Regions from separate parts of the Homo sapiens genome. Here all the other regions are linked to region 2. Evidence: promoter capture Hi-C in 16 types of primary human blood cells and fetal thymus (Javierre and others, 2016). All regions are on one chromosome and are shown on one strand. The core of a region is centred on a gene start or on the middle of the fragment in contact, and the rest is flanking DNA. Distances in the headings are between cores, read along the strand shown. Region 1 overlaps TPP2 (tripeptidyl peptidase 2). Region 2 holds the start of MBNL2 (muscleblind like splicing regulator 2). Region 3 holds the start of TEX30 (testis expressed 30). Region 4 overlaps TPP2 (tripeptidyl peptidase 2). Region 5 holds the start of FGF14-IT1 (FGF14 intronic transcript 1). Region 6 has its middle 2.4 kb from the start of ARGLU1.

Region 1 (3,740 bases), core at 940-3,439, 5.4 Mb after region 2:
TCTTTATTTGCTTAAAAGAATATTTTCAGTACCTTTCCTGAAATTTTAAGTCAACTCATTAACTTTGTGTTGTTTATGATAGATTGCAAACTTCCCGCCATTTGTTCTGGTCCTCTCTGCAAATGTCCTACCTTTTGTTCTGGTCCTCTCTGCAAATGTTTGGCAAATCTTCCAACCTTCACTAACTCCTCTACCTTACTGGTTACATTGAAGACATACACTAACTTAGATTCTTGACATTTTGGGAAAAGCTTTGGGCAATTTCTGTTTCATCCAGCCAACATAGCCCAGTAAGCATTTCCCAGTCTCCCACCCCAGGACCCAGGATTTAATACCGAAGCTCTTACCGATACTAACTGCCCATGCTTTCAGTCCCTCTTTCCCATGTGAAGCCTCCCCCTTCTCAGAGATGAGTGATATAGTTCCATTGTTAGCAGTTCAGCTTCCTCCTTTCCTTTACTTCTCCCAAAACACCATGGCAAATCCTCAGGGGGTTTGCCTTTTTAAAACCCTCCTCTGACCCTACATTTCTGTTTTTGTCTTTTTATGTCTAGTGAAGTGGTTTTCTTTATCTAATATTAAAGTAAGAAATTCATGGATAGGATAATTGCATGTATAATAATTTGTAATGAAAATTTGTGTGTGTAGGAGAGAGATCCTTGTAAGTAAAGCATGTGGAAATAGGTGACAAATAAGCCATTAAATCCCATTAGGCTTTTTTCCTTTGCTAATATATTGATAATGAGGTTTCTAATGAGAGATCTATCTGACTTGTTAGTGCTCTCTTGTTATTCTTGATCTCAAGTCACTCAGGTTTGCTTATTGAGGTGAAGATAGGTGATTTGGGTTCTTAGTGCTACTGTATATCTTTCAAATTTCATATTGGAATACATTTTAAAATAGGTGATTTTCTTATATGATTAGTACATGACCTAGCTAGTTTTAATTTTATAAAGTAGTATCAACTTAATTTTGTTTCCATTTTTATTTTGGTAGATTTTCTTACATTTTTCTCTTTTTTAATTATATTTTTGAGACATATAGCCTATCTCTTCAGAATCAGTATCTGATTTAAGTTTTATAGTTGTATCAGGGTTTGGTATGATTCCCACAGTGATTTTTTTTAATTATGACTTTGAGTTTTCTGAGTATTAGAATTCTTATTTGTTACTATTATAGGACAGTTCCCAAGAAGTAAACATCCAACTTGAGAATTACCATACATGAAAATAACAGCTGTGCCTGGGAGGCCTTTATGACCCCTTCAGCTATCAGGCCCTCAGTTGTTCCATGGCAACAAGATTGAAATGAGATTTGGGGTCCACCAACCACCCATTTGCTTTGTCCGGTAAAGGAAAAAAAAATGTGTGCTTTTGTTTTCTCCACATCGAGAATTTCCCTCTCCTTCTTCAGGGTATACCTTAATTACAGAGCTTGGAGGTTATTGCAGAGGAAATACTTGTGTTGGGGTGAGGGGCATGTTGGTCAGAAAGACCCAGAGCAGTGGACATTAAGCTTTGTCGTAAAGAGTGTGAATTCTCCAGGTGGAATTGGAGTCTGAAGACTGTGCTCTTCCACTTTACTGACAGTTTCTACGGTTTTTATGTTTCTGTTTCTTTCTTGAGGATGGAGTTTTTTTGTTTTTTTGTTTTTTTGTTTTTCGTTTTTTGTTTTTTTTTCAGTCGTTGTGTCTCTGTTTTCTGGCTGATTCCTGCTGGTAACTCAGTACATATTCCTGAATGCAACAAATTCCCTTTGGAAAGCCAGCCAAGAAAGAGCCCAGAAATTATTTTCCCACAAAAATGTGTAAAAATATATATTGTTACTTGTAGCAATCATGTTATGGCTCAAATGAAAATTTGTGGACTGGCAAGAAATCAAACCTTTGAAAATCAGTCTTAGTGCTAAGTAACTTGTGTCTTGTAATTCAGTAATGAAGTATTCATTGAATGCCTGACAGGCACTGCTAGGTAGTGGGTATATGTATGTTCGTGAATAAAGTAGACATGGCTCTTGCCTTCATGGAGCTTTCTATTCTAATAGGGGGAACAGATGAAGATCACCTACTTGTATCATTAGAAATAGAATTATGTTCTGTGAAGGAAATGAGGTACAGTGAGAAAAAATAATCCAGTTTAGGATGGCAGCTACCTAAAGGAGGTCATCGAGGAGGCCTTTCTGCAGGAGGGACTTTAATAGAAAACTGAGAGAAGATAGAATCCTGTGGAACAACTGAAGAGATAAAGAATTCTAGGCAGAAGGAACCTGTTTAAAAAGTCATGAGGCAGGAAAAAGTTTGGCATGTTTCAGGAATTGAAAGGAGGTTGGCGTGGTTAGACTCCTGAGTAACGGGGTGGCAGGGGTCAGATGGTGCGAGGCTTTTTATGCGAGTATTCTGAGTGCTCCATGAATACATTGATGGGCTTAAAGGAGAGGACTGATAAAATACAGCTTGTTTTAATACAGGTTGAGTATCGCAAATTCGAAAGTCTCCAATGAACATGTCCTTTGAACTTCATGTCCATGATTTTGGAGCATTTGGAATTTTCAGGTTAGGGTCACTCAGCCTGTATTACTTTTGATGGGGCCAAGAGTGGAAACTGAGGGACCACTTAGGTAATTCACCTCATGGAGGCAAGAGATGGTGGTGGTTTGGAAAGTTAGGATAGTGGTAGTGAAAATGCAATGGATTTGAGCTCTCTTCTAGACAAAGAATTAACAGGATTTCCTGTTAGCTTCGCTGTGAGGAGTCAACTGAAGTAAAGAATCAGAGGAGGATTGTTAAGTTTCCAGTGTGAACAGCTGGGCGTGGGGATTCCTGGGATGGCAAAGCCTGGAGAAAATCAGGTGGTGGGGGGCATGTTAAGCTTGAACTTTGTTGCGTTTGAGGTGCTAGTGTGGCATCCAATAATGGTGCCATTAAATGGTACCATTACTACTAAACATTTTTTCCCCCTAAAGCTCTAAACTTGTCCAGCCCACAGCTCACCATCTTTAGATCTTTTCTCAAATGTTACCATCTCAGCAAGGCCTTCCTTGACCAGCCAAACTTATGTTGAAAACCCCACACTGACCATCTCCCTTCCCTGCTTAATTTTTCTCCATAGTTAATTTTCACCATCTGACATGTTCTTTTTTTTCCCTAATACCCAGTGTGATAGCACATCTGACATGTTCTTTATTTTACTTTGTTATTAACTGAACTGCTTTCTCGCTATAAGATCGTCAGGGATTTTTGCGTATGGATCACTGCCATATCCCCAGCACCTAAAATAGGGTGTGGTCTATAGTAAATGCTCAGTAAATATTTGTTTATTGAATATATGAAACGACTTGAAGGATTCTGTAGTGTTTCCACGATTAAATTTTCTTACTAGTATTTGTTCAGGCTTTTGGCTTAAAACAGTTCAGTTCTCTTTTTTAAGTGAATGTAGATTTTGTATATACACACACATATATATGTGGATTTGCATTGTTTAGGAATAAAAACCTAAAATCTACCATTCATATTTTAATTTTCTTAATTTTCAGGTTACAACTGATGGAAAACCAAAAATCGTTGATATCATTGATACAACAGGAAGTGGCGATGTGAATACTGCTACAGAAGTAGAGCCAAAGGATGGTGAGATTGTTGGCCTTTCAGGAAGAGTGCTTAAGGTGAGACCTTTTGTCTTCTTTTTGAATTTTTTTTTTTTTACTCTTGCCTCAAAGCATCTAATGTTTTTACCTTACATTTG
Region 2 (3,971 bases), core at 1-2,500:
TTATGTTTTTAAGATGCAATGGCAAAATAAAAAGAAAGCATTCCATTGCATTCTGTTGCTTCATTACAGATGCGCTGAACAGTTGCTTATAAAAATCGTGCATTGGGTTCAACCTTTCAGATGAATAAAGGCTTTGTTCTGTCTTGGTCTCATCATGTAATCATCATACTTTTTTTTTCTCAAAATGTGGTATTTAGGGGAGGAAAATGTATGCTTGTTGTGTTTGCTCAATGCCATATGTTTTTGAGTTTTTGTTTTCAAGGCATACAGAAATGCTGTAGACTGGGAAATAAATAAATAAATAAATAAATAAATAACCCTTCCTAAACTTTCTCTTCTTCTGCTTTATCTCAGGAAACTCCAGCACCTCCTAGAACATCTTTTGTGGAATGGCACCTCATGGGGGCCCTTGGATCATGTACCCCTTGTATTCAACAGTAAACATCTTCCTATAATCATTGCTTCATTAACGATAATGTGAGCCAATGCACAGTATTTATCAAATGGCATCTAAGATGGTTAAAGCACACCTAATCCTCTCGTGGGTGCCTGCCAAGAGTAGAAAAGGGTAGTGTATAGATATCAATTTTATTGTCCAGCATTCCCTAATCGAAGTCCCAAGTGGTCTGAAAACTTAGACGAAAGATAAATGGGCCGCAGTAATTAACCACTGCAATAACAGATGTTATACAGGAAACCTGTGTGTGCCAGAGCTATAAGCATGTTTTGATTTTGAATACGCACTTGGGCTAGCACATTCTTCCTCAATAATGGAAATATGTAAATGTTTTGTAAGGTATTAACTGCCATGGCAGACGTTGAATTATTTTTCCTTTAAAAAACATATACATATGCTTTGTCAGATAGTCCAAGGACTTCAGTTTCATGTACAACCTGGATTTCTTTGGAATCTGCGGAGTTTCACATTTTCCCAAGTGTTCACGGTGAAGCTCCTGGCTTCGAGCTGGCTGTCTTCAAGGGTGTTTTCTTGAGCTACCCCTCTCTCTGCTCTGCCAATTATGTGCCACTTTGTCTTGGTGCTATGATTGCTTTCTTCTGAGAGGGAAATTCCTCTTTCATCAGTATGGATGCACTGTTTTTACACACTGCAAGTGCTGTGTTACTGTGTCAGTCATCCTATTAGGGCCAGTTTCAGACGAGTAGGGCTGACGAGCTGGCTGGGGATTGGCTGGCCCCGGCTGGGAGGGATTTGTCGGAAGGAAGGGCTGCAGCTTACAGCAACAGAGTTTAGACTGTCTTTGCTTCATCATCTGAAGGTAAAATTTTCCAGATACGGCAGACGGCTTTCAGAGTACAATAAACAGGGAATGAGAACTATTTACATGGAAGTTTCTTTCTCATGATGCGGTGGAGAAGCCTCGGCCACTTGGTTCTGCCAGATGTTCCTGGGGTTACTGTAAATGGGAAGGACAGGCAGAGCTAAACAAGGTAGGAGAATCGCCCCCCTTTTTTGAATGTTTAAAGAGTTTGCTGCAGTATGCTGCATTCCATGTGTGCTGCTTACGGGAGCCAGGGAAACTGGATTCCACTAATTCAATTGTAATACTTGCGGGGGACCCTGGAGTTTTACGTAACATTTTGATTTGAGAAAAAGAAATGGCAAAGCTTGAATCTATGCCGCCTGTTTGGGGTGAGGCAAGAAATCGAGTTTTTATGCAAAGAATCGATTCATTTATTATATTATTTTTTAAAAACCATTTGAATTCTTTGGAGCAATCTTATTTTCTTGCTGTGAAAAATTGTTATATTGCCATAGCTAGTTCCCAAATAGATAAAGTTTACATGGATCCTATTATTTGAAAACAGACTTGCAATTAAGGATTAAAAAAAAATTCATGGTAAATAATCATCGGTTGAATGTTTGGCCAAACGTATGTGTCTATTTATTAAAAATTAGGGACCTACCTAGCTCTACAATGCTACAGCTTTAATTGAGTTTCAAAAGCACATTTTAAACAACCTAGCAAGAGGTAGCTTTCTGGCAAGTTTTCGATACTGTAGTTCAATGTTTACATTTCTTTTCCTGGCATGTCTGAGCCTTTGTTTCCAGCTTAAAAGTGGAACCATTATATTCAAAAGTAAAGCTGGGTTAATAATGCTTACTGCAATTATCTGATCTTTATGCATTTTTAATGAGAACACACAGCCAGCAGAATAATTTAATGAGGGCAGGCTAGCTTTTAAAGCTGTGTTTTCACTATGCCGAACCATATCAACTTTCTCGCTGAGAAGCAGCAGTGAGAAATGATGGAGAAGATTTATTTTTAACACACTTGGCCCAGGAGAAGGAAAGGATATATTTGCTAAAGAATTCTTTCTGCCCTTTTCCGTTTTAAATTTCTGCCAGGCATGAGGAAACTGTGCTTTTTTGTTAGGCCTCGGAAGCATGTGTTTACAATAAATGTGTAACATTTTTAGAATAGTTAGCAAGCACTGAAGCGAAGAAAAAAATCTGACTTGCCTAACCACCACCACCTTGAATGTTCTACAAGAAACATTACTGTCCCTTTAAAAGACAAAGGTTAAGTGGAAAGCTATTTGTTAATTGGGTAATGTGTGTGTTTTGGGGACAATAAGGTTTTTAAAAAAGGCAGGGGGAACATTCTTATAATCTTTAAATAAGAGGAAGTTTCTTCAGCTATCCTACTTGTTTTGCAAGGAGCAGTAGAACTACTCATTTAAATAAGGGCAATGCCACGTAGATTCTTCTAGACCCACTGTTTTTACTTTCAAGGAGAAGTGCAGGACACTAGCCCAGAACTTCTGACGTCATCCCCCAACTATTTCTGCTGTGTGTTCCTTTATTCGAGCTTGTGGAGAGGAATATTTCTTTATGTCCTGGCCAGGAACATTCTAACTCCCCACTGGCAGGACTTAAGTTATGTCTTTATATTTTCGCCTGTCTTTTGTAAATTGTAAACCTGTCCCCTCATAAATAGGGCATCTTCTTGTACCTGCCACATGTCGGGCCGGTCAGCACAGGTTTTCTGCAGGGCTTCTGGCTGGGCTGGCAAAAAGCAGCAGGGAGCAGGGCAAAGCTTTTTTTCTGGCCTGACTCCCCCTTGGTGCAGCCCAGCGCTGCCACCTGGGTGGATGGTCCCCGGGGCCCTATTCCCAGTTGCTCCAGAGCCACTATTTAGGATCCAGGTTGTGCCACCAAGTTCAAGGCTGGTTGTGATGGTGAGAACAGCTGCTTTCATAGAAAAATCATCATGTCCTAGCACAGATGGCCCCAAGCAGGGGAAGTACAATACTGCAGGCTGCAAATCCATGTCACAGGTGGCAACCTTGGTCACAGAGATCGGGGGAAGGGTAATGTTTACAAAGGAACCTTTTAAAAAAGATTTTGACTGGAGCACATTGGAGTTCTCGGGAGTTCCCAAAGCTAATTTGTGTCTCCTCTCTGACTACTCACGTAGTTTTGAGCAAGTGCCTACCTTGATTTTTCTGTCTTTTAATAGAATTGAATCATACTTGCTACACTTTCCCTCATCATTTAGCATTTTGAGACCTTGACCTTTTACCAAAAAAAAAAAAAAAAAAAAAAAAGTTGTTTGTCTCTTGGCACATTGAGCTATTTAAAGTACAAAGGGATAAAACCTCGGTATTAAGAAACTGTTGGCAAACACCTTAGAGTATTAAGATACATAGTCATATACACAAAACCCTTCACTCTACTTTGTGCTCATGTAAATTTTTTAGGGATACTTTTTCTTAGTTCAACAAATGAAATTTCCAAGGAAATCAAAGCGTTGTTGTTTGCATTTTTTCCATCGATCTAATCTAATATACTAGAAGCTCTGCAAAGCACACTATTCTGGCCACAGGCCTTGTAGTGCCCAAAACATTTAATGCTGTTTTTCCTTTGACTTTTGTGTTAAATTTGTGAAAGTGGAGTAAATAAGAGAAAAAACAAGAGGGAAGGAGAAAAATATGCTTGTGAAATATAC
Region 3 (4,185 bases), core at 1,472-3,971, 5.6 Mb after region 2:
CTTGACATCAGATTCCCCTCTCCAAAGGTAACCAATATTATCTGCTTCTTACTTATCCTTCCACATAGCACTGTACTTATTTTCACACGATGTAAGTGTATTTATAAGATAAATTCCTGGGGAAGGAATCGCTGTGTCAAAGGGTTTGTTCATAATTTTTTACAGAATTTTTTCATAGAACTTCCCAAGGTGAATACATTTCATTTTTGAATAGGTATCATGTGCACACGGTACATTAAAAAAATGTAAACAGAAGTCAAAGTATTTGTTCATAATTTACAGAATATGTTTTTCATAGATCTTCCTGAGGTGAAGAATACATTTCATTTTTGAATAGGTATCGTGTGTACATGGTACATTTTAAAAGACAATGTAAACAGAAGTTTCCACACACTCTTCCCCCAACCACCAAGTTCCTTTCACTTCCTAGAAACCACCATAAGCAACTTATTATGTACCTTTCCCCATCTGTGTGTGTGAGCGTGTAGAATTCTCTTATTTCAGCCTGGAGAGCATTAGTCTGATCTGACTGCAAAAGTTTTGGAAGTTGAGTGAGACAAAGGAGATGAAAGACTTCAAGCTTCAGTGTCCCTATCTTCATACATGCAGCCCCACAATTATGCCTGGGTTTCTCAGTTCAAAGATCCTCTGTTTTACTTTCTCAAGAGAATAAGCCTCCATCCAGTCTTCTAACAAGGGGAAAGGCAGTCACCCAACAGGTGAAATGGGGAAGGGGATCTGGATATCCAATTGCTTCTCAGATTTCACCTAAATCATCTTTCTTTAAGCTCCTTACACCCACCTTCTGCACCACACCACCTTCATTCCCAGTACCACCGCTGTCCAGTGCTGCCAGTTTCCGTGCAGTTTGAAGATTCTGTGGTTAATACAGGGTTTGCTAAGCCATACATGTTTTGGAGCCCGCTATTTGATTGCCAGCGTTTCCTTTCCTATTCTCCCATTGCTGGAGGTTCATGTTTGTTTTTAAATAGCCTTAATGTAAGTTTAGTGAAACTTCATGAAGGAGTAAATTTAGATGCATGTAAACAACCACTATCTTAATTTAGAATGCTTCCCTATTTTTTTTTTTTTTGAGACAGGTTCTCGCTCCGGCGGACAGGCCGGAAAATTGAGTGGCGCAATCATAAGCTCACTGAATCCTCGAACTCCTGAGCTCAAGCGATCCTCTCGCCTCAGCCTCTTGAGTAGGTGGGACTACAGACGCTCACCACCACGCCCGCTTATTATTTTTAAATGTTTTTGTAGAGACGAGGGTCTCCCTATGTTTCGCAGGCTGGTCTTGAACTCCCGGGCTCAAGCGATACCCCCTGCCTTGGCCTCCCAAACCGTTGGGATCCCAAGGCGTTTGCCACCTCTCCCGGTCTGCTTTACTTCTTTTCAGACTTCACGATGCACAGTGTGTTCTTCACGGCAGCTGCACACATGCTGGTTTTCTTCAGAAACACGGAAAATGCCCCATAATGCAATCCCCAAGCAACCTGCTCTAGGTCATCTGGGTTTGTTTTTTTGAGACAGAGTCTTGCTCTGTCCCCCAGGCAGGAGTGCAGCGGCGCGATCTCGGCTCACTGCAGCCTCTGCCTCCCGGGTTCAAGAGATTCTCCAGCCTCAGCCTCCCGAGTAGCTGAGATTACAGGCGTCCGCCACCGCGCCCAGCTAATTTTAGTAGAGACGGGGTTTCACCATGTTGGCCAGGCTGGTTTTGAACTCCTGACCTCAGGTGATCCACCCGCCTCGGCCTCCCATGGTGCTGGGGTCAGGCGTGAGCCACCGTGCCAGGCCACTGTCGTCTGGGTTTTCATCTCTGGCTTCAGGTTCAGAGAGGGCAGGGTTTGAAGCCTGGCCCGGCCTCAGTGCCCTCAATGGCGATGGTGAAGATGACCGGCTAGAGGTGCTGCGCCCACGAAACGCCAGCTCTAGTGGCGTCCGGAGCGCCGGCTCCACCGGCTAGGCGGTCGGCGGAGTTCTAGGACGACAACTACTCACAAGGGCTGGGCGATCACCTCCCACGCCACGGGACGGAGACGCCACAGCCCCTTCAACTTTCAGTTACAAACGTTCGTGCCCTGTTACGTCCACAGCATTAAGCTGGCTGTCGTGGGGCAAACAAAAACGTTGAGTCCGAGTCTTACGGGGGGTCGGGTCAACAACCCCAGCAAACATGGAGAGAAAATTCAAAGCGGGTCTCACGGGCGTGCGGGGCTCGGCGGCGCTCGGGGCACGGGATCCGTTCTCTCCGCAAATGCGCGCTGCCGGGGCTGCGCCGCGGGCTGCCCCGGTCGACCCCTCTCAACTCCGAGGCTACTTCGAGCCAGTCACCCGGGACTGGCTGACGTGGTCCAGGTTGGCCCCGTCCGGCTCTCCCCGCCCGTACCAACCCCACATTCCGCCCTCCTACCCGGCAAAGCGGACGAAGCCCCCACCGGCTGGTGCCCGCGGGCACCGAACTTAGCGGAACGCCTCCCGGCTCGGACCAGACGCCCCTGAGGAGTGACGCCCGCGAGCCTCAAACGTCTCAGGCGGGCCTGCCGGGTGCTCTCCCCGTCTCCCAGGAAGCCGCCCGTCAGCCGGCGGCGCCAACCGCCACCGCCGCACTTACCCGGGAAGGCAAAAGTGGCCGCGGGCACCCAACCGCCGTCACTCCCTTCAGGGAGCTGACTAGCGCGCTCGAAGCGACCGCCTCGCCTGCCCCGCCACAGCGTTCGGCTACGACGCACGCGCGCGCAGGCCACGCCCCCCGGGTGCGCGGGCCGGGCCGCAGAGCACGCCGGGAGCGTGGGTCTCCCAGCCCGCCACATCCCAGGGCTGTACGCGCGGACTAGCGGAGCTAGGGGAAGGTGCCAGGGTGGCCGCCGCCTCAGTAGCACGCGGACGGCTGGAAAGTCAGCCCCCGTTTCCGCCTCACCCAGGATTGCTCCACTCGGGGCCTTTCCGCATCCCAGCCACCACTCCATTCCGAGGCGCGATCAGCTCTGACCAGTCTTCCTCACACCCATAGTCGATTCGTTACTCCCGTTAAGGTCAAACGCTGACAGAAACCAGCCGCTTCGCACACTTCTACATGGGGTCAAGCCCCCTGTTATCTTTGCGGGGATGATTGTAACAATCACTTAAATGGTCGCTTCGTACCATCTTGCCCCCGCCTGGGCCTTGTCGGCGACGCCGCAGCCACGTGGATGCTGTGGAAGCCTGTCCCCTGGATCTTCCAAAGGCTCCGCGCTCATTGCCACAGCCAGCGGCCGGCAGTGGCCTAGGCTGTTGCACGCGATCGGTCCCCCACATCTCCCCTCTCCATCTGGCTCCTTTCCCTGGAAGCCCAGGGCAGCCCACACTTCGCTGTCCTCACCCCCACTCACCAGGCGGGACCCCACGACGACCGGCTTTTGTCCTGGCTGCTCCCTCCCAGCGTGGGCCGCGTCTCCTCGGGGTCGACAGGGCGCGTGGTTTTCACAGCGAGGCCTCCCCTGATCACCTCCCCGCTCTTCCTGTCCTTCCCCGGTCACCTCACGAGCTATGGATGTATCTGTGTCTCCTCACTGCGCTATAAGCTCCCAGGTGAAGAAAGGGTTGCTTTTTGTAAATTTTTGTTTTAACCGTGAACCTCTTGTGTATGAATAATGCTCAGAAAAAAAAAAATTTCTTAAATGAATGAATCTTCCCCAAGCCCAGTGCAGTTGGCACCTGCCCTCTTTTCTGTCACGGTACATACAAGGAAATACATTCCACAAAACCACATAGTCGCTGTCATTTATCACAAGTGTTTCCCCAAATTACAAAGTCTTAATACTTCTTTGTCTCCTAATTTTTTAGCTGTGTTTTTAAAAAACATTTCTTTACATGCCATAAAATTCACTCATTTGAAGTGTACCATTCAATCATTTTCAGTAATTTTAAAACCATTTGCAACCATCACTATAATTTAAGAACATTTCCATTATCCCCCTGAAAAGTATTTGCACAGTTATAGTTGAGGTAGGAGATCAGCAGGACTTTCCAAGCACTGATCACCACCTGCTGAGCAAAACAGGATCTGGTCAGAACAGGATGCCCTAAAAAAACGGCCAAAACTGCCCTAAAGAAACAGGCCCAAGCCAGCTAAAACCAGGATGGTGACCAAAGTGACCTCTAGTGCCCTCACTGCTCATTATACACTAATTATAATACATG
Region 4 (4,071 bases), core at 906-3,405, 5.5 Mb after region 2:
TCAATAAATCTTCATCTTGGGGTAATTACAGGCAAGTCATTTTCACATCCTCTTGAGGTTCAGAGCATCAGAATGAACTCTATGAATACATGTGTAAGTGCCAGACAGCTGAATCTTTATCAGGTATTGTAAAGATACACATATGATATGTTTATTAAAATTGAAATAATGTAAAACACATGAATAAATTTGCAAAACCAAGATCACAGTACACCATATGCACTCTGGTACCTTAATTTTTTTTTATAAATAATAAAAGTGAATATTGAAGCTTCTTAAAGTTGGTCTTAATTTTTCATAAATAAAATTTGGGGTTATAACAGAAATAATACATTAAATACATAGACAAAAAAAGTTAAACATAAGATAATCTATTTTACAGTGTTTCTTATAGGCTTACAATTATTTGAATGTATTTCCAGTTCTTGTATGATTAACTTTTGTGCATATCTAACTTTTTATTATTTTTATCTTTGGCTACTGCACGTGCATCTCTCGTCATTCCTCCACCAAATAAACAGACAAAAGTAGTATTGAAAAGTTTACAGTCCCTTATCTAATGGCAAATTGTGTGTATGTATGATTTTTTTATCTTGTTCTCTTAAGATTTACTGCTGCTTAAAATTACTACCAGTAATCCTTAGTCACTCCCAACTGTTTCTGCTGTATCTCATGAAGTGTTAGAGCGTTTATGAGAAACATAAATACATGTATAAGCATATTGGTCACACCTTCTGGGCTAGCTAGGGTCCAAAGTCTATCCATGAAAGCTACATGCATGTTCTCTCTCACACACTCATGGACTTTCACCTGCACACACATACAGGTCCCCATTTGTATAGGTTTAGTCCAGTAAGAGAATGGAGAAGCTCAGTAAAGGTAGGATGACTTCCCAAGGTTATACGGCTGATCAACTGTTGGAAATTAATTACAGACCTTGCTTTACAACCCAGGTTTTGCTATTTCAGGTAAGTACTACCTACAGCAGGAATCAGTAACGTTTGGCCCTTTAACCCAAACTGGACTGCTGCCTGTTTTTGTAAATAAAGTTTTATTGGAACAGAGCCATGCCTATTCATTTGTGACTCCTGTAACTGGAGGCAGTTATACAAAGCTGCCATGTTAGCTCCTGTTTCCTGTCTGGTTCATTCTGCATTTCTGTGGTGACAAGTGGACCCAAGTAAGCTCTAGAAGATGTTCTCAGTAAAATCATTACTGTTTCTATGTGATTACATTAAAAATAATACAAACAGTAGGATGGTACTTCAAAAAGTCAAGCAGTTTTCCTGTTTCTGGTCACAGTAGCCAATGTTTGCACACCCACTGAAAACAATTGAAAAAACTAGGTAAAAATAACTTTTTAAAGAACCATTAGAGACAGTACAGGGTATGTGCTCAATACTGGTTCTGTGGCCCCTTTCCAATAATAAGAGGCAGTTCTCAATTGTTACTGGGAGGAGTTTTGCCATCTCATGGGATTTCTTTCCTTCCTCATGTTAGCATGCTTTCTGGGAGAACTTCTCTTTACCGCAGAAGAGCCCCACCTGCTTCTCTTCTTAGGCACCACAAATCTCAAACCCTTTCTCCCTCCACCCCCAGCTCTAATGAAATGTGCAGGGACTGGATGACTGGAAGCCCCAGCCTGGGTCTCTGCTGTCTAATCCTGGCTCAAGTACTGACAAGTCAAATCACTTGACCCCCATGAATCTCCTTAAGAAAATCGTGGTGTTGAATCAGTGTGTCTATTCCAACTAAAAAAATTATTTCATTTGAATTAACTGAGTCTTTGCCTCCACTGTGTTTCGTTCTCCGTCCTCCCAGCAACCCAGCATTCAGAATACATGGGTCTTTGTCTTTCCCTTTAGGATCTAAGTCAGAGAAGCCTTCATAGGGAGATAGATAATAGGGATTCTTGCTATCTCCCCTAAAGGGGAAGGGGAGGAAACCTTGAATGGAGAGAATTTTTTGAGGAATAAAGAAGTGAGAAACTGAATTTCAAGAGTCTCAGTCTGAACATAGCAAACCAAGGGGTGAAGAATTTATCAGTAGTCATGGGTGGTAAACTGAAAAAGGGAAGCTGACTAAGTAAAATCCCGGAAACCAGAAGAGGAGGATGTAAGTGACGCTCTAACATGAAGGGTTTTTGGGCATCCCAATCAGCAGAATTTCTACCTGCCTTCTGATACCCTGAGACAGCCAGGTCAGGATGTGATGGTGCAGTACCTGCTAGCACTTTGCTGCAGAATGCCTCTGCACTCAGTTCTGCAAATGTACTGTTTTAGTTTCATTTAAAACCCCTTTTTTTGTGAGAAGATTTCAAACATCAGGCAAGTTTGTAATGAATTCAAGCTGAGTTCTCTCGAGGGACAAACATGTATAACTACAGTTCCAGTGTCAGTGCCAGCTGTCAGGTTTTCACTGTGCAGCTAGGGCTGCCTGCATACCCAGTCATGTAAACCAAATTCACTCTAGAATCGGCCAGGTCTTACCAAAATGCAAATAGAATACAAAGCAACTGGAAATATATTTCGTAATTTCATTTTATGTGTGATTTTAAAAGTTAAGCTACTTCAAAACTCATCTGTCTAACTTATTTTCACTAATAAGTGTAACTTGCCTGGAATTTGGCAGATCTAAGCTGGGCTTGGGCTAGATGGTTTCAAGCCTGAGTCATTAAGATGTGAAATTTACAGAAACAACAGAGGATTGAGGAACAAGTTAAAGGACACTCTAATGGTGCAGTCTGCATAATGCAGTAGTATGAAATTCTACAAAAAACCAAGATGAAAGGAGGATCAGATTTAAGAGACATACTAATCAAATTTGGACCTGATTGGGTTCTGATTGAAACTAAAAATAAATGTCATGACACTTACAAGACAATTGGAAATTTGAACACTACATATTTTAACGTATAATGTTACTTATTTAATATAAAATTATATTTTAGATGTGATAGTATTGTGGTTACGTATCTTGTATAGATACAACCTGAATTTACAAAAGGAATGATTTGTCTGATTTGATTCAAATTAATATGGGAGCAGAGAAAGGAATGTTTTAGATTAACCACGGTTTTCCATGAGTTGAAATATACTTACTTAGCAGAATATTGAGCTATAGTTGCCATATAATAAACTGCACGTATTTAAAATGTACAGTTAGTCTACTTTATTTAAAATTTTCTCTAATAGTGTAAAGAAAAAGGTGACTAATCAATTCAGCCATTCTAAAAGGACACTTCATTTACAAAATAAGCATAGGATCATATTCCTTTGCCCTGGAAATGTGAAAAGTTTTTAAGAAGACATTTAAAGGAACAAGTTTCATTGCTGTAATTTTCTTAATAGATTCCTCTACATTGTATATTTGAAAGATAGAGGATTTGAAAGAAAATTTGCATAACATTTGGGACAAACCGTGGGTTTTTTAACAGCTTTATTGAAGTGTACTGAACATATGATAAAGTTTAACCATTTCAAGTGTGCAGTCTAATGTCTGGAATGCAGCCATCAGCACAATCTGGGTTTTTAGCACTTCCCAATCATCTGGAAGAACTCCCTCAAGCTCATTTGTAGCCAGTCTCCGTTCCCACCCCTAGCCTCAGCCAGTGAACTGCTTTCTAATCCTATAGTTTTTCTAGAAATTTTATATACATGGAATCGCAATATGTAATTTTTTGTGTCTTCTTTCGCCTAATGTAATGTTCTTAAGTTTCAGCCACTTTGGGTGTATCTGTTCATTCCCTGTTGCTGCTGTGTATACTGTGTTGTGTGATGTACCACATTTTGTTCATTCACCAGTTGATGGATGTTTGGATTGTTTATATTTGAGGCTATTAGGAATCACGCTGCTGTGCTGCTGTGAACGTTTGTTTACAAGTCTTTGTATGGGCATATCTTTTCAAGTAATGTTGTGTAGATATCTAGGAATGAAATTGCTGAGATGTGGTATATTTCTTTTTACATTGTAAGAAACTAGCAGACCATTTTCAAAATGACTATCATTTGACATTCCTACTAGCAGTGTGTGAGACTTGCAAGCTTTGCACTTCCTCATCAACACTTGATG
Region 5 (4,266 bases), core at 738-3,237, 5.2 Mb after region 2:
TTAAAAATCTAGTAAGTGTAATATACATTCGTTAACGGGAAAACTAGGTGAGAGATTTACCATGCCCTAAAAGTCATTTAATTATATAATCAAATAATGCAGTAGATCCACATCACCGTTCTTTTACATGTTAATTTGAAGTACAGAAAGAAAAAACTTAAGCCGAATAAATATCATTTTGGGTAAATGTTTCAAGTTCAGACAGATGTTTCTCATTTACTCTCAGACAACTATTTTATTATTTTGGGTCTATTTTCCTAATGTAATGAATGTAAAAGAGGTAAATCCAATTGAATACTAATCCTGATCTTGCCTGAAGAGTAAGTTGATGACAAAATTTTTGAAAAACATGACTAAAAAATATGTAAAAGGACAAAATCTAGAATCGGATAGTACAAATACAGGGAGAAGGAGACAAAGGGATGAAATATCAGTACTGGAAAAGCACTTTGCTACAACAAAGGGCAAGCGGTCTGACAAAGCTGGGCGGACTTTATGGCTGCATATCAGACCACATACTAACTATAGCATTCATGTCACAGTTAGTATCCCCCATACAGAGTCACATCTGCCACACATGTACCAGAATGGCCTCAGTACTGTGTTGTTTAAAATTATTCCCAACATTTTAAAAGAAAACTAGAAAAGAGATAATAATAAGCAATAATGATGTAAAATTTTTATCCTATATCAAATTTCTTAACTGCATCATTAAAATATCTCTAACATTTGGTACTGATCTCATTAAAAGTATTTCCAATATTTAACAGTCATTATTATTTGTCTGAGATGTGAGGTATTTTATGTTACTTGTCATGTGAGTTGAAAAAATTTTTAAAGGTACAAGAAAAAATAATCAAGTTAATGGAAAACATCACTTCTCAGGAAACAAATCAACTCATTTAGCAATGAAGGAGGAAAGAGCATATTGTGTTACTGCTTTCAATTTGTCCCAACAATAAAATGCTAAGGCCAAATGATGGTTACTACTGAGTGCTTACGTAGAAAACTGACTCAGTTCTCCTAGCAGACAGGGTCCTTTCTTTGCTTAAAAGTTACAACACCTGGTATACAGCAGCAATACAACTAAAGAAGATGAGTTTCAGACTACAAATAAGTGGCTGTTGAAACAAAAAGGACTACAATTATGAGATATGATTTCTCTTTTAGTCTTTAAGCCTTCTTATGTTCATATTTCTTAAAGTACAATATTATACCATGTGCTCCACACAGGAAGTGGAAAGAACAGATATTACAATCCCTCCCAAGCTACACCTTTAAGATGCAGCATTACAGATAAGGTTACCACACACTTCAGTGATCCACTATAATTGTGCAGACAACAAAATGCTACAGGAGGAAAAAAAGGCATTTTAACTACATTCATTCCTATCTAAAAAAGCACGTGTGCAAACTTACATATGTAAATTCAATAAAGTTCATACTTCCTTCTCTTTTCTTGCCAGACCTGAATAGTAAATCTGAAAACTTGGCTTTTAATTGCACTACTTGACTCCTCAAACTGAACAAAGTATTGTGTCCATAAAAACATCTGCTATTGACAAAGAATTGTACATAATCGTTTAAAAAAATCATTTTGGCATATCTTTATTGTAAAGCATTTTTTCCCAGTCCTAAGGATTTTCGGGTTTGAAATCAAGATGAACTTTTTATCCCACAGCAACTCTCCCAGAACTGTCCATTTAAATTTTAATCTAGAAAGAGAAGCTTGTCTAAGTCTCCTACTTGCTGTTAAAAGCTACCTCGGCCCCTCAATATAAACAGTCAGAAGACAGCCAACCATGTCTCAAGAAGATGGAAGTGTTCTGTTGGCAAATGGCCAGAAGACTAGCTCACCAGAACTGTCCAAATCAAAAACCTGTAATCAGAAAATTCCAGACTCCTCCTTCAACTTCCTTCCCAAATTCAAACTGGCCACTAAGATGGATGGACTTCACTTCCTCTCTAGTGCCTGTCACTGCCTTATTCTGGACCGCTCACCACTGCTCACTGCTCTTCCTCCCTGGTCTTTCCACCTTCAACCTTGCCCAACCCAGAGCTGTTTTCCACGCTGTAGTCATAATGGTTGTCTAAAGGGTAGATATGATCATGACACAGAAGAGAGCTCACGATCTGTGCCTCACTACCTTGCAACCCCACTCACTACCTGCCACTCCCTAGAAACACCCTCTATTTCTCAGTTGTACTTGATATTCTCGGTCTGCACCACAATCTTTGACGCCCCCAAAGCTTAAAGTATGCTTCTTTCTCTTCCTTGACAGCCTAACCAGTGCCTTTACCACGTGGCTAACTCTTAGTCATTCTTCATGACTCAGTCTGAGTTTTATTCCCTCCAGAAACCTTTCCATGCCCCTCTTCCTTGGCCCTATAGCACCTTGGTCCACCTACACAGAATTGTTCACCACATCATAATTGATCCTGTCTTTTGTCTTTCCTGCTAATTCCTTGAAGGAAGAACTCTTCTTCACCCCTGTATCTCCAGCATCAACAGTTCAAACACAGCAGCACTTTTTAAGTGTTTACTAAGTTTTGTTTTTTGTTTTTTTGAGATTGTAGTTACTGAAAAAGTGATAAAAAGCACGTGGACCTAAAAGAAATAATTCATAAATTTCAGAGTTGTAATAAACTCTGAAAATAATCTTTTTCAACTTCTTAATTTACAAATGAGGTTTATAAAAAAGATTTAAGAAAGATTTTTCCCAATAGCATGGATATGAGAGAAGGAAAAATAAACTAGTGAAGATACCCTCCCCTACCCCGAAAATCTTAAAACTGTCTAAGGAAAAGGTATCTGGGGAATATAATGGATAAATGGAATGCCATCTATTTCAGCACCAACCACACAATTCTATGAAGCGCATGAGGAGCTCTTCCTAGTGTCACCAGTAAAATACGCGTTTCTTCACCCAAGGCTCAAAGCTTCTACCTGTGTTTGTGCCTACAATTCCAAAACTGGCTCTTGGAACAGTCGCTTCCTCCACTGGGAAGGAGTTGCCACACCTGTAAAAGGAACAGGTTGTTTGTGATCGCTAAGGTCAACCTCTTATCTCTGATGGTCTCTGAATTTAGAGTACAATTTAAATATATAGTTAACATAGTCCGGGAGAGATACAGGGAAGGGGTGAGGGAAGTTTACTTACAATCAGGACTGGGTGTGAACGTTATGGGAACCTAGAATATTAGAGCTGGGGCTGATCTGGGATTACTCTAATCAATATCCTTCTTGTAGTAGCCGAGGGGACTGAAGCCCAGAAAACTTCAGGACCCGCCCAGGGTCTCCCAGTAGCTAGTGTGTAAGCTGAGACCAGAACTTGGCTCGTTCTCTCCCAGTCCTGAGCTTGGGCAGAATCACCAGCAACGCCAGCTCCCTTCCCTTTCCTTCAGATGGGTCTCGGGTCCAGAGCTGGCGCCCGCTAGCGGGAGGCCAGACCGGGAGGGCCAAGGCAGCCACCTGTGGCTTTCCCATCCCTCAGGTCCAGCAGTGCACATGGGGTGCCCCCGCGTCAACGCCGGAGGAGTGACCTTGCAAACCCGCGCCCCGCGGGCGGCAGAGCCGGCCGCTCACTGCCCGGTCCCCGGCCACCACGGAAGAGCGAAGATCTCTGCCAGGGCAGGAGCCCTAGCCCCGACCCGCGCCCCAAGTCTCTCCCGCGCGGCGGCTTCCGGCCGCCATGGTTTCCATAGCAACAACAGCACAAGCTGCCGGGTCCCAGAGACGCCCTAGGGTCAGAGGTCATCTCCGTGGCAACGGAAACTTCCCGCGCTACGGCGGCTCCAACGGGCCGCTTCCGCCGCATTGCGTAGCGAAGCCCCCGGCGAGCCGAGGCTGGGAGCGCGGTGATGGCCGGTCCCCGTGAGCAGAGGGCAGCGGCGGCGGGACCGGGGACTCTGGGCCAATGGGTAAAGCCAGGAGGAAGCCCGTGCCTGGCCCGTTGGGCTCCCTCCTCCTCAGAGCCGAAGCAGTCCACACTCGGAACCCAGCTTCACCCGGATTACCGAGGGGTTCCACGCCTGGAGGCAGAGCTGCAGCGTGGGCCCGCTCGCGGCTTTGCAGAAAACAAATAATGACACACTTCTCTGGAAGCCCGGGGCCTGGGCCCAGAGCCGTGGCTTCTGCCAAACTTTCTGGTCCCGGACACCAACTCCCCGCCTCTCAGCCCGAGGCCACAGCGGCCCAGCACCCTGCACCTTTTAAAGTGGCTCCAAAAAGGAGAAAGCCAAATAGATCAGGGTGGTAGGCGCGAG
Region 6 (4,390 bases), core at 1-2,500, 9.3 Mb after region 2:
GGTAAGATGCCAACGCCTGTTGAATGAATTAAGCACGTTTTAGTGGGATTTAAGTCCGGCCTCGCAGAAGTTGATTGATTGCATTATTTTCTAGGAGCTGGTCTTGTGGGGCAGCCCTAAAATGTATCTCCAAGTGACCCTGCACTCATCACTTGCTGCCTTGGACTTAGTTTCCTCATTCGTAGAATGGAGACACCACACTTTCTGAAGTGCTTATGAGACTTGCAGGAGGTAAGTAGGCAGCAGGTTTTGATGAATGTAACCTAATGCTTACTATAGGGCTTAATGTGCCTTCTAAATGCTTTAATGTATTAACAAGTGCTTAATTCTTACAATTCTGAATTAAGTACTACTATTATCCACGTTTCAGAGATGAGGACCCTGAGGTCCACAGAGGTTAAATAAGGGTCACACAACCAGTAGGTGACAGAGCAGGGACGTGAACCTAGATCATATTGTGCAAAGCCCTTGCACATAACCAGCAAGCCCTCCTCAACCCTAGCCACGAAAAGCTTCGTCCCTATGTGGCACAACAAACTGTGTCATTGTTAAGACCTAAAAGGAAAAGGCAATGTTAATATTTGCAGATGACAGGAACCCTTGAAAATCTAGGTGCCTCAATTTTAAAATTGAGTGCAATAATAAAGCTTAAGTAAGTAGAAGAAAAATTAGAATTATTTGAATAAGCAAAAACATATTAAAAATGAAATAATATTTCCTCCACAATGGCAACAGAAACCATAAAATACTTAGGGATAAACTTTAACAAGTTACACAATCTTTATTATAAACCTTTACTGAAAAGGCAGTAATAAGGCCCTAGTAAATGTAAAACATGCTGTATTCTTAGGTGAGTAGTCAGTATCAAAAATACTGTCAATTCTTCCCAAGTCAAATTACAAAATTAGTGCAATTCTCATGAGAGTCCCAAATTCTCTTGGGGATATGTGTTTTAGAACTAATTAATTTTAAGTTTTATATGGAAGATCACATAATTAATTATCAAGAAAACTTGGAAACAAAGAAGAGTAGTGTATTAGTCTGTGTTGACTGCTGTAACAAAATATCATAAACTAGGCAGCTTATGAACAACAAATTTATTTCTCACAGTTCTGAAAGTTGGAAATCCAGGATCCAGGTGCTAGCCAATCTGGTCGCTGGTGAGGACCCAGAGATTCACAGATGACTCACAGAAGGCACCTACTCACAGTGCCCTCACATGATAGAAGGGGAAAGCTAGCTCTCTGAGCTCTCTTTTAGTGGCACTTCTAGGGTCTGAAAGTTTGTGTTCCCTCAGATTCATATGTTGAAACCTAATCACCAGTGCAATAGTATTAAAAGGTGGGGCTTTGGGATATTGATTAGGTCATGAGGGCTCTAACCTCATAACTGGAATTAGTGCCTATCTCAGCCCATTTCCACTGCTATAACAGAATACTTTAGACTGAGTGATTTATAAATAATAGACATTATTTCTCAGAGTTCTGAAGGCTAAGAAGTCCAAGATAAAGGTACCAGCAGAGTCAGTGTCTGATAAGAGCTTGCTATCTGCTTCCAAGATAGTGCCTTGTTTTGCTGGGTCCACAGAAGGGGACGAACACTGTGTCCTCACATGAGGGAAGGGATGGGAGGCAAAAGGGCAAAAAAAAAGGGGGGGGAACTAGGACACTCCTGTCAACCTCTTTTGTAAGGATACTATTCCCATTCAAGAGGGTGGAGCCTCATTTCTTAATCACTTCCAAAACGGCTTCAGCTCTTAATGTTATTATAGTGGATTTTAGGCTCCAACATAGGAATTCTAGAGAGACACATACATTTAAGCCATAGCAATGCCCTTATAAAAGGGGCCCAAGGAAGCTTGTTCACCCGTTCTTTACCATGTGAAGACATAGAAAAAGGTGTCATCTATGAAGCAGAGAGTGAGGCCTCACCAGACACTGAATCTGCCAGTGCCTTAATCTTGGACTCCCAGCTTCCAGAACTCTGAGCGATAAATTTCTGCTGTTTATAAATGACCCAGTCTGAGGTAGTCTTATAGTAGGCTGAATGGACTAAGATAGGAACTAATCCAATTCATGAGGGCAGAGCCAGCAGCCTCACCTCCTAATACCATCGTCTCCCAGCTGCCCCGCCTCCTAATACCATCGTCTCCCGGCAGCCCCGCCTCCTAATACCATCGTCTCCCGGCAGCCCCGCCTCCTAATACCATCCTGTCCCAGCAGCTCCACTTCCTCATACCATCATGTCCCAGCAGCCCCACCTCCTCATACCGTCATCTCCCAGCAGCCCCACCTCCTCATACCGTCATCTCCCAGCAGCCCCACCTCCTCATACCATAATGTTCCAGCAGCCCCACCTCCTAATACCTTTGTCTCCTATCAGCCCCACCTCCTAATACCATCGTGTTCCAGCGGCTCCACCTCCTAATACCGTCATCTTCCAGCAGCCCCACCTCCTAATACCATTACATTGGTGATTAGATTTCAACATCTGGGTTTGGGAGGGCACACAAACATTTAGACCGTAGCAAACAGTACCTGTTTGCCCTACACAAAATTGAATAAACTGAACAACAAGATTTTAGGACAGAAATAGGAAAACAGTGCAATAGAAGGATAGATCTATTCTTTTACTTCAGATACGTTCAAGTAAAATCACATTTAATATAGAATGTATAGAATTACCCCCATTATAGTAGAAATATTTCTGTCAATCTAACCATCTGTCTGTACGTATCTGTACCTATCTATCCAGTGGGAATGATATATATGGTTTATATATCCATATATGGTGTGAATATATGATATGATGTATAGATATATCTGGAATTTTGTTTATATATATGTATATTACATATATATATAATCCAGAATGATGTCTGTTTAATGATAAAGATAGTTATTTCCAATGAGTTAGTGTATAAATTTTCTAGAGCTGCCCCGACAAATTACCACAGACTGATGTCTTAAATGAACAGAAATGTATTCACTTACAGTTCTGGAGTCCAGCAGTCCAAAATCAAATGTCAGCAAAGTTGGTTCCTTTGGAGGCTCTGGAGAAGAATCTGTTCACTGCCTCTCACTTAGCTCCTGGTGCTTGCTGGCATTCCTTGGCTTTTAGTCCCTGTCTCCATCTTTACTGTACGTCTGTCCTCTTCTTATAAGACCACTGGAGATTGGATGTAGAGGTATAGGGGATTATGGAGCTTTTAAAAGAGGATGATATTGGGGCGGGCGTGGTGGCTCATGCCTGTAATCCCAGCACTTTGGGAGGCTGAGGCGGGTGGATCACAAAGTCAAGAGTTCAAGACCAGCCTGGTCAAGATGGTGAAACCCCGTCTCTACTAAAAATACAAAAGTTAGCCAGGCGTGGTGGCGGGTGCCTGTAATCCCAGCTACTCAGGAGGCTGAGGCAGAGAATTGCTTGAACCCAGGAGGCAGAGGTTGCAGTGAGCTAAGATCGGGCTACTGCACTCTAGCCTAAGTGACAGAGCAAGACTCTGTCTAAAAAAAAAAAGATGATATTTACCCTGCTCAGGCTCTGGCCATGTCTTTTGGCTGCTGCCAGGAAAAAAAAAAAAAAAAAAAAAAAGGAAAAAGTGCATGAAAGCCCTTAATTTACCAGGGATCATCTCTGAGGATGCATTGAAGGAATGAGGAACACACACATTTTATGCCTGCATTTTATAGTATAATTATCAAAATCTTGACATTTCACACTCCCTGAACTCACCTTATTTTCTCATGTATTTCTTTATTGACTATTTTTTGCCACCAGAATCCAAATTCTCGGCATCTTGACTGTTTTGTGTCCACTGACACCCTATGGGTTAGCTAACCTCGATAAATATATGCCGAATACACCTTGAAAGAAGAGAATTGCATGGTTTTTTATCCTAAGTATAAGTTTGGCTTCATTTGTTTTGTTTTGTTTTGTTTTGTTTTCAGACTCTTAAAATTTTTAGTTGCCTCCCTTCCTCCATTCCCTTCTCCAATAAAAGCATTTTCTCAGTTCATGTTTGAATAATTAGGATAGCCAAATATAAATAACACATCATTCAAATCCAGATCATTCCAAAGAACAATTTAATGTAAAAAATAGGAGATGCATGAATGTATCTTTCCTCCTTAATATGGTTTGGCTGTTTTCCCAACCAAAATCTCATTTTGAATTGTAATCCCCATAAACCCCATGTGTCAAGGGAGAGACCAGGTGGAGGTAATTGAATCATGGGGGTGGTTTCCGCATGCTGTTGTCATGATGGTGAGTGAGTTCTCATGAGATCTGATGGTTTTATAAGTGGTAGTTCCTCCTGGGTTCATTTCTTCTTCCTGCCACCTTGTAAAGAAGGTGCCTTGCTTTCCCTTCACCTTGGGCCATGATTGTAAGT

The links. Contacts are between HindIII fragments. The CHiCAGO score rates a contact against its expected background, and 5 or more counts as called.
Region 1: a fragment that was not itself captured here is called in contact with the fragment with the promoter of MBNL2 in region 2 in 1 of 17 cell types (total CD4 T cells); the score reaches 5.2 in total CD4 T cells.
Region 3: the fragment with the promoter of TEX30 here is called in contact with the fragment with the promoter of MBNL2 in region 2 in 1 of 17 cell types (non-activated CD4 T cells); the score reaches 5.3 in non-activated CD4 T cells.
Region 4: a fragment that was not itself captured here is called in contact with the fragment with the promoter of MBNL2 in region 2 in 1 of 17 cell types (total CD4 T cells); the score reaches 6.2 in total CD4 T cells.
Region 5: a contact is called between a fragment that was not itself captured here and the fragment with the promoter of MBNL2 in region 2, in 1 of 17 cell types (naive CD4 T cells). The highest score is 5.3, in naive CD4 T cells.
Region 6: a contact is called between a fragment that was not itself captured here and the fragment with the promoter of MBNL2 in region 2, in 5 of 17 cell types (total CD4 T cells, total CD8 T cells, naive B cells and 2 more). The highest score is 8.9, in total CD4 T cells.

The regions. Positions count from the first base shown.
Region 1 is chr13:102,601,262-102,605,001 of GRCh38, forward strand. It overlaps TPP2 (tripeptidyl peptidase 2), which reads left to right. Exons shown (of 30, transcript NM_001330588.2): 2 at 3,532-3,660. Among named protein-coding and RNA genes, the nearest start is that of TPP2, 6.1 kb to the left of the region's middle. The HindIII fragment of the contact is 1,352 bases long and covers 1,514-2,865 here.
Region 2 is chr13:97,221,083-97,225,053 of GRCh38, forward strand. MBNL2 (muscleblind like splicing regulator 2) reads left to right here and starts at 1,251. Exons shown (of 9, transcript NM_001382683.1): 1 at 1,251-1,449. RefSeq lists an enhancer at 1,273-1,332. The HindIII fragment of the contact is 4,024 bases long and covers 1-1,624 here.
Region 3 is chr13:102,771,065-102,775,249 of GRCh38, forward strand. It overlaps TEX30 (testis expressed 30), which reads right to left and starts at 2,722. Exons shown (of 6, transcript NM_138779.5): 1 at 2,618-2,722. RefSeq lists enhancers at 2,477-3,154, 3,155-3,832 and a silencer at 2,555-2,894. The HindIII fragment of the contact is 5,388 bases long and covers 579-4,185 here.
Region 4 is chr13:102,678,895-102,682,965 of GRCh38, forward strand. It overlaps TPP2 (tripeptidyl peptidase 2), which reads left to right. Exons shown (of 30, transcript NM_001330588.2): 30 at 1-1,064. Among named protein-coding and RNA genes, the nearest start is that of METTL21C, 14 kb to the right of the region's middle. The HindIII fragment of the contact is 3,772 bases long and covers 270-4,041 here.
Region 5 is chr13:102,390,811-102,395,076 of GRCh38, forward strand. FGF14-IT1 (FGF14 intronic transcript 1) reads right to left here and starts at 3,709. Exons shown (of 4, transcript NR_036486.1): 1 at 3,544-3,709; 2 at 2,948-3,021. It overlaps FGF14-AS2 (FGF14 antisense RNA 2), which reads left to right and starts at 3,768. Exons shown (of 1, transcript NR_036487.1): 1 at 3,768-4,266. It also overlaps a transcript of FGF14 not described here. RefSeq lists an enhancer at 3,615-3,844. The HindIII fragment of the contact is 522 bases long and covers 1,727-2,248 here.
Region 6 is chr13:106,568,342-106,572,731 of GRCh38, forward strand. No RefSeq gene overlaps it. Among named protein-coding and RNA genes, the nearest start is that of ARGLU1, 2.4 kb to the left of the region's middle. RefSeq lists an enhancer at 1-62. The HindIII fragment of the contact is 1,210 bases long and covers 646-1,855 here.